3 separate regions of the Homo sapiens genome follow, and regions 2 and 3 are each linked to region 1. The links are contacts of gene promoters, found by promoter capture Hi-C in human tissues and cell types (Jung and others, 2019). All regions are on one chromosome and are shown on one strand. The core of a region is centred on a gene start or on the middle of the fragment in contact, and the rest is flanking DNA. Distances in the headings are between cores, read along the strand shown. Region 1 holds the start of ERN2 (endoplasmic reticulum to nucleus signaling 2). Region 2 overlaps DCTN5 (dynactin subunit 5). Region 3 overlaps CHP2 (calcineurin like EF-hand protein 2).

The links. The method cuts DNA at HindIII sites, captures the fragments that hold promoters and counts their contacts. A contact is called where the count stands out against the background at its distance.
Region 2: a fragment that was not itself captured here is called in contact with the fragment with the promoter of ERN2 in region 1 in 1 of the 25 tissues and cell types used here (small bowel).
Region 3: a contact is called between a fragment that was not itself captured here and the fragment with the promoter of ERN2 in region 1, in 3 of the 25 tissues and cell types used here (aorta, spleen and stomach).

Annotation. Positions count from the first base shown.
Region 1 is chr16:23,711,823-23,714,764 of GRCh38, forward strand. ERN2 (endoplasmic reticulum to nucleus signaling 2) reads right to left here and starts at 1,400. Exons shown (of 22, transcript NM_033266.4): 1 at 1,273-1,400. The coding sequence starts at 1,365. The HindIII fragment of the contact is 19,919 bases long and covers 1-2,942 here.
Region 2 is chr16:23,653,588-23,656,529 of GRCh38, forward strand. The region is part of intron 2 of DCTN5 (dynactin subunit 5); the gene reads left to right. Among named protein-coding and RNA genes, the nearest start is that of DCTN5, 14 kb to the left of the region's middle. The HindIII fragment of the contact is 3,291 bases long and covers 1-2,942 here.
Region 3 is chr16:23,757,206-23,760,147 of GRCh38, forward strand. It overlaps CHP2 (calcineurin like EF-hand protein 2), which reads left to right. Exons shown (of 7, transcript NM_022097.4): 6 at 1-118; 7 at 325-1,730. The coding sequence ends at 378. Among named protein-coding and RNA genes, the nearest start is that of CHP2, 3.7 kb to the left of the region's middle. The HindIII fragment of the contact is 3,201 bases long and covers 1-2,942 here.

The DNA of each region.
Region 1 (2,942 bases), core at 150-2,649:
CCTCTGCCACAATGTCTACCTCTTTTGGGATGCCCCTTTCTGCCTCCCCAAACCAGCCCAGCTGGTTTTGGTGCCAGGCTCCAGTGGGTCCCTTGACCCAAGGCTGGGGGGTGCCCTTGGGAGGGGGGCTGGAGCCACCCGTACTTACATCTGGCGATCCTGGGCTCACTCACCTGCTCCAGTCCCTCCTTGAGCAAACAGGGTGAGGCTGAGCTCCCAGCAGGAGGCCTAACATCCGGGTGGCCCAGCCGCACCCCTACAAAGGCCACATCCTGCTTCAGGACCCTCAGGTTTGGGGCTGGGCCACTGGTGTTGAGTGGAGGGTCAGGAAATTATCTGCTAGCCCCTCTTTCTTTCTGGGCTTCAATTTTGTCATCTGCAGCATGGCAGGAGGGAGAACGGTTTGGAGAAGAGGCTGCAGATTGGTTGCCCAGAAATGAATTTTGTTTGACCATCTAGTGCTTAAAAATTTTTCAATTAGCTGCCAATTTTTTTAAAAATTGGATGATTTCTACAAAAAAACCAAGATTTCAAATCTTTCTCATTTCTAATTTTTCCAGAGACATCCGATCTGGCCACACTGGGCTTGCATTCTTAGCTGGCAACCATGAGGTGGACCCATGAGGTGGAAGCCGGGAATGAGAGGTGCCTAACTCTACCTGATCGCTTTTGCCCCATGGGGGTTCTAGGCGGGACACCTGGATTCTTAGGCCAGGCGACTTTTGCCTCCTGGCTGCATTTCTGTAAGACTCTGCTATTCCTGGCACCGTGGGAGCAGATACTGACACTCCCAGCTCATTTATCCCATAGGTTCTGAACCTGGGGTGCAGCCATGGGTAAGGGGACCGTATTGTAAAGCCTCTGAAATTGCAAAACTGGGCGTGCAGGCTCATTTCTCAGCAGAGGGCCCTGAAGTCAATCATATTTTCAAAGGAAGCCAGGATTCCCAGAAGTTTTAAGAGGCCTGGCTTTCGTGCCCAGGTGCCCCCCTACCCCAGACTACACCTCTCCCTGCTGAAGAGGCGGGGTGCTCTGTCTACTCTTGCCTTTCCACGCTGGCAGATCTCCCCAGCTAGGTATTTGTTGGGGGCAACTGGCGGCTCCCCAAACCCAGGAGGCTTTTACTCCGTTGGGGCCGAGTTGGGACCACCCAGGCGTGAGGGAGGGAGAGGTGCCCCCGTGGCCCCGCCGCGCCCTCGCCCCAAGTGCGACGCCGCCCCCTGCGCCCCGCGACCAGACTTTGGGGACTTGGCGTCGGTCCCTGGCTCTCACCTGTGGACTCAGCGTCCCGAGCAGCAGCGCCGCGAACTGGAGCTGGAGCCCCAGCCGGGGCCACGGCCTCGACCCCCTGACCGCACTCGCCATAGCGCCTGGGCAGCTGCACGGCTGGCCAGGTCCCTGGGTGCCTCCAAGGGAGCGCTCTGTCCCCGCCCGACCCGGAGAAGGCTCCGCCCCTGGCTGGGCCTGCAACCCCAGCCTGGAGTCCTCGCCGATCCCCGCCCTTCTCATCACACTCCCAGCCGCATCCTCGCGTCCCAGTCACCCCACCAAACACGGTGGGGCGCTTTCCCGGGAGAGGGATTTTACTGAGCCCACTTATGGAGAACTTGCCACGTGCCGAGGACCGTGCCGGTTCATCATCAGTTCCTGGAGTCCTCACTGCACAGCAGGTACAAGCGGAGGCTGAGAGCCGCAGTCCCAATACAGATCCGCCTGATCTCAAAGCCTGCGCTCTTTATCATTGCACCAGCGGATCCCGGTGGGCTATCAGGAAATAGCGATTAATTGGTGAATTCAGTCGTTCGTTCAATAAATATTTATTATGGGTCAGGTAAGTGGCTCACCTCTGTAATCCCAGCACTTTGGGAGGCCTAGGAGGGAGGATCACTTGAAACCAGGAGTTGGAGACCAGCAACATAGTGAGACCCCATCTCTACAAAAAAAAATGGCCAGGTGTGGTGATGTCCACCTGTAGTTCCAGCTACTCGCGAGGCTGAGGTGGGAGGATTGCTTGAGCCAGGAAGTCAAGGCTGCAGTGAGCTATAACTGTGCCATTGCACTCCAGCCTGGGCGACAGAGAGAGACACACTCTCCAAAAATAAAATAAATAAATAAATATGCATGTATTTATTTTTTGAGACAGAGTCGATCTTGTCACCCAGGCTGGAGTGCAATGGCACTATCTTGGCTAACTGCAACCTTTGCATCCTGGGTCCAAGCAATCCTCCTCCCGAGTAGCTGGGATTAAAAATGTGGGCCAACATGCCCAGCTAATTTCTGTATTTTTAGTAGAGATGGGGCTTCACCACTTTGGCCAGGCTGGTCTCAAACTCCTGACCTCAGTTGATCCGCTCACCTCGTCCTCCCAAAGTGCTGGGATTACAGGCATAAGCCACCGCGCCCAGCCAATAAATATGCATTTATTATAAGCTATGACATGCCTGCCTGATGAACAAGATGATGAGGTCCCTGTCTTCGTAGAGCTTAGAGATTCCTATGCCTTAGATGTAAGACAACTCCGCATGGAAGGGCACCTTCTAATGGCCGTGACCACCCTTGCTCCTGGTAGATGTCTCCAGTTTTGTTCAGAGAGGGTCTGCCAGGGTCCTTGAAGGTAAGGTCCACCCTGTTTGCAAGTTTCAACTCATTCATGTCTCCTTCATCCTTGTGTAAAAATAAAAAAAAAAAAATCCCTGCTGATTTGAGGGTCATGCAGCCCAGCTCTGCCACCTTCTCCCCGTCCTCTTTGTCATCCTTGGCCCTCCTGGTCATCCCCTCACAGTTACTGAAAACTTGGTAGCTTGGCCCCTAGCCTTCATCTCCATCACAAATCCTGCCACTCTCCTTGGTGTCTTCAATGTCCAAGGTACAGCTTAGCCAGCATTGCAGCCTCTCAGTGGGTGTACCTCTTTGGAGACCTTATCCCCCACGCCACAACTGCA
Region 2 (2,942 bases), core at 211-2,710, 58 kb before region 1:
CTGTAAAAATCCTGGAAGACAACCTAACCAGTACCATTCAGGACATAGGTACAGGCAAAGATTTCATGATGAAGATGCCAAAAGCAATTGCAACAAAGCGAAAGTTGACAAATGAGATCTGATTAAACTAAAGCGCTTCTGCACAGCAAAAGAAACTATTAACAGGGTAAACAGACATCCTACAGAATGGGAGAAAATTTTTGCAAACTATGCATCTGACAAAGGTCTAATATCCAGCATCTAAAGGAATTAAACAAATTTACAAGTAGAAAACAACCCCATTTAAAAAGTGGGCAAAGGACATGAACAGACACTTTTCAAAAGAAGAAATACAATAATCATGACAAAAAGCTCAACATCACTGATCATTAGAGAAGTGCAAATCAAAACCACGAGATACCGTCTCACACCAGTCAGAATAGCTGTTATTAAAAAGTCAGAAAATAACAGATGCTGGTGAGGTTGTGAAGAAAAAGGAACACTTACATACTGTTAGTGGGAGTGTAACCATTGTGGAAGACAGTGTGGTGATTCCTCAGAGACCTAAAGACAGAAATACCATTTGACCCAGCAATCCCATTACTGGATATATACCCAAAAGAATATAAATCATTCTATTATAAAGACATGTGCACACATATATTCATTGCAACACTGTTCACAATAGCAAAGACATGGAATCAACCTAAATGCTTATCAGTGATAGACTGGATAAAGAAAATGTGGTACAGGTACACCATGAAATACAATGCAGCCATAAAAAAGAATGAGATCATATTTTTTGCAGGGACATGGATGGAGCTGGAGGCTAAATGATGAGAACACATGGACACATAGAGGGGAACAACACACACTGGGGCCTATGGGAGCGGGGAGTTGGGAGGGTGCAGGAGGGAAAGGATCGGGAAAAATAATGGGTACTAGGCTTAATACCTGGGTGATGAAATAATGTGTACAACAAACCTCCATGACACAAGTTTACCTATGTAACAAACCTGCATATGTACCCCTGAACTTAAAAGTTTAAAAAAAATTATTTCCTTCTAGCTGTTTTGAAATACATAATAGATTACTGTAAACTGTAGTCACCCTACTGACCTATCAAATTCTAGGTCTTATTTCTTCTATCAAGCTGTATATTTGTGCCCATTAATTAACCCCTCTTCCTTCCTCCTACCTTTCTTGGCCTTTGGTAACCAACAGTCTACTCTCTGTCTTGAAATCTGCTTTTTTAGTGCCCACATATGAGTGAGAACGTGTGATATATGTCTTTCTGTGCTTGGCTTATTTCATTTAATATAGTAACCTCCAGTTCCATCCATGTTGCTGCAAATGACAGGATTTCGTTCTTTTTTATGACTGAATAATATTCCATTATGTATATATACTACATTTTCTTCACTTGATCTTAGCCAAAAGGCCAAGAAGTGATATATACCACATTTTCTTTATCCTTTCGCCCATTCATGGATATCTGGGTTAGAATCATATACTCTTTTATGTCAAGCTTTTTTCACGCAGCATAATGTTTTTGAGATGTATCCATCTTGTTGCATATAGTAGCAGATTATTATTTTTTCCTTTTTATAGCTAAATATTATCATTATGGAACTTTTAAGACATGTACAAAAGTAGAGAGGATATATAAGGAATTCCCACAAACTCATTTACCAGCTTCCATAATTAGCAATATTCTGACATTTTTGCTTCATCTCTAAACTCACCTTGTAAACTCAAGTCCTAGTTTGACTAGGGTGGGGTAGGGAACGCTAGAGTTTTTTATTCTTACTTATTTATTTTTTCTTTTTCTGAGACAGAGTCTTACTCTGTTGCCCAGGCTGGAGTGCAGCAAGTGGCACTATCATAGCTCACTGTAGCCTTGATTCTTAGTGATCCTTCCGCCTCAGCCTCTGGTGTAGCTGGGACTATAGGCACGTGCCACCATGCCCTGCTTAATTTTTTTTTTTTTTTCTTGAGGCACAGTCTTGCTCTGTCACCCAGGTGGGAGTGCAGTGGTGTGATCTCAGCTTACCGCAGCCTCGACCTCCACATACTCAGACAATCCCCCCACCGCAGACTCCTGAGTAGCTGGGACTACAGGTGCACACCACCACATCTGGCTAATTTTTGTATTTTTTGCAAAGATAGGGTTTTGCCATGTTTCCCAGGCTGGTCTTGCCCTCCTGTGCTCAAGCAGTCCTCCTGCATCAGCCTCCCAAAGTACTAGAATTACAGGCATGAGCCACCATTCCCGGCTGGATGGTATTTTAAAACAAATTGCAAATGTCATATTATTTCACCCACAAATACTTCAGTGTGTCTTACTAATTCTTAAGGACTTAAAAATTCAGTAGAGGTGGGGCATGGTGGCTCACAATTGGAATCCTAGCACTTGGGAGGCTGAAGTAAGAGAATTACTTGAGGCCAGGCATTTGTGACCAGCCTGGGCAACATAGCAAGACCATGTCTCTACAAAAAATGAAAAGAAAAATTAGCCAGGTCTAGTGGCATGCACCTGTAGTCCCAGCTACCTGGAGGCTGAGGCAGAAGGATCTCTTGAGCCCAGGAGTTCAAGGTTACAGTGAGCCATGATCATGCCACTGCACTCCAGCCTGGGTGACAGAGCGAGACCCTGTCTCTATAAACAAACAAAAATGAGTAGAGTATCACTGTTATCATGTTAATATTGTAAAAACTCCAGTACTTCCTTAATACCATCTAACGCTCAGTCCATATTCAGTCTTCCCAGTATCTCAGGATATCTTTTTCCAGTTCATTTGTTCAAAGCAGAATCCAAACATGATGCTGCACACATTGTATTTGGTTGATATGTCTCTTAAGTCTCTTTTAATCTGTAACAGTTCTCTTTCCCCAACCCTTTTTTCTCTCCATGCCATTTATATATTGCAGAAACTGGGTCACTATCCAGTTGAATTCTCCAG
Region 3 (2,942 bases), core at 181-2,680, 45 kb after region 1:
CCGTCTGATGGTTGGGGTACAGGTGACAGAAGAGCAGCTGGAGAACATCGCTGACCGCACGGTGCAGGAGGCTGATGAAGATGGGGATGGGGCTGTGTCCTTCGTGGAGTTCACCAAGGTCAGAGTGCCCTTGGGGATTGGGGAGTTGAGATCAGGAGTTCTGGGGCAGACAGACTTGGGAAACGTTCAACGGAGGAGGGCGGAAAGATAGGGGTTGCCTGGGAATGATGGGGTCTCTGGAATGGGTAGAACCCTGGGGGAGGAGGTTGGGAGCATGGAGAGCTGAGAGTCAAGCCTCTTGCCTGCCATTTGTTTTTCCCTCAGTCCTTAGAGAAGATGGACGTTGAGCAAAAAATGAGCATCCGGATCCTGAAGTGACTCCGTTTGTGCCTTGGGCTTGCTCCTGCAACCAGTATCTCCTTGGAATTCATCCAAAGCCCCCATGGACGCATGGACGCAGGGCGACAATAAACTGTATTTTCGTTTCTAACTCTATTTAGGGCCAAGAGAAGAAAGCTGGAAGGATGTGTACTAAAGTCTAGCTCAGCAGTCCCCAACCTTTTTGGCATCAGGGACAGTTTTTCCACGGATGGGTGACAGGGGATGGTTTTGGGATGATTCAAGTGCATTACATTTATTGTGCACTTTATTTCTATTATGATTACATTGTAATATATAATGAAATAATTATACAACTCACCATAATGTAGAATCAGCAGGAGCCCTGAGCTTGTTTTCCTGCAATTAGACGGTCCCATATGGGAGTGATGGGAGACAGTGACAGATCATCAGGCATTAGATTCTCATAAGGAGTGCACAATCTAGATCCTTTGGTGTGCAGTTCACAGTAGGATTTGGGCTCCTATGATAATCTAATGCCACTGCTGATCTGACAGGAGGCAGAGCTCAGGCGGTAATGCAAGCAATGGGGAGTGGCTGTAAATATAGATGAAGCTTCAGCTCGCCTGCCGCTCACCTTGTGCTGTGCAGCCCGGTTCCTAACAGACCACAGACCCCACACCAGGTCTATCTCATTTGGTCTCAGAGCTGTGAATCAGCCAGCAATATTTTAGTTGCAAATCACTGAAAACCCAACTCAAAGTGACTTAAGTCAGAAAGAAATTTTATGAATTCAGGTAATTAAAAAGTCCAGAAGTATCTGCCTTTAGGCACAGCTGGATCCAAGGGCACAAATGATGTCATCAGGCTCCAGTTATTCTCCATCTCCCAGCTCAGCTTTTTCTGTCTGTAAGCCTGATTTTCAGGAAGGCTCTTTCCTAGTGATGGAGATGACCACCATCAGCTCCAGGCTTCTATCCTGCTAACCCAGTAACCCAGTGGGAAGAGATTTACTTATTCCAATAATTCCAAGTGGAGAGTGTCATTGACCCGTTTGGGGTCTCATCTCTACTTCTAGGGGAATGAAACACTCTGAGTGGCCAGGCCTGTGTCATGTGCTAATTCCTAGAGCCAGGGAAATAAGGTCTGAGGATTCAGGATGGGGTGAAAGGTGGTTGCTTAAAGGAAAATGAAATACAATTAGCAGAATAAGGGGAAACGAGTGGTCTGCTCTGCTCGGGCAAAACAAGAGATGCCCATTACTGTGAGGGACCCTTGAAGTCTGGACTCTTAAATGGGTTTTTGCTGATTTCCTGGGTGCATGCTAGGATGATGGGGCTTGATGCAGTAGGGAAGAGACGATGTAAAAATAATAAACAATATATACCTTCCTAGAGTGTGAATGCATTCGAAGATTCTAAGAGTAAGCTTGTTTTCATGGTAAGATGTTCAAACATTGATATAAGATGGAATGGAGCAGGAAGTCCCATAAAACTATGAGACTCTATGTCTGCAGCAGAGCTCTCTGGTTGCACCTGTGGGAGACACTGTAATTGCCCTGCTGTTTTTCTCCCTCCCAGAGCTGGTCTTTGGTTGTCTTGTATCATCAACACATGAGAACCAGTTGTGCTCATAACATCTCAACTCTGCTTTCAATGATATGTTAGCAGCTTGAAACTGGCTATAGCAGGAATATTTACACCACAGACATTGGTAACTGCAACAGGTTAAGGCTTTTTCCTCCTGGAAAGCCAGTTGTTAAACATTTATCTGCACACTACCTGCTAGACATTTCCCATTACTTTGCATGCCAATGGTTTCTTTCCTTTTTTCTCCCTTCTTTCTTTCTTTCTTTCTTTCTTTCTTTCTTTCTTTCTTTTTCTTTCTTTCTTTTCTTATCTTTCTTTCCTTTTTTTTTTTTTTTTTTTTTGAGACAGGGTCTAGCTTTGTCACCCAGGCTGGAGTGCAGTGGCAGTCTTGGCTCACTGCAACCTCTGCCTCTCGGGCTCAAGCAATGCTCCCACCTCAGCCTCTTGAGTAGCTTGGACTACAGGCACATGCCACCATGCCTAGCTAATTTTTTTTTTAAAAAGAGGTGGGGTTTCACCATGTTGCCCAGGCTAGTCTTGAACTCCTAGACTCAAGTGATTCACCCACCTCGGCCTCCCAAAGTGCTGGGATTATAGGCATGGGCCACTGCACCCAGCCTTACATGCTAGTGGCTTCTTTTTGCAAGCACTGTGATGCCTTGCTCCAGGGCTTTGCACATATTCAGCCTGTATAAAGGGCAGGGTGGAAGTGCCAGGATTTAATGACATTAGGAGTAGCTCTCAACTAGTGACAGATGGAAATTGGTTGGATAAATACCCATTACTTCATCATTCAGGTGGCACAATTTAGATACATGTTTTCTTAATTTTCATAGCAATTTCCAGCAGATTTGAGCCCCCATTGCTCACAGGGTTAATTCATTTGCTTGTTAAATCACCCTGTCCTGGCCGGGGGCAGTGGCTCAGGCCTGTAATCCCAGCACTTTGGGAAGTCAAGGTGGGCAGATCACCTGAGGTCAGGAGTTCGAGACCAGCTTGGCCAACATGGTGAAA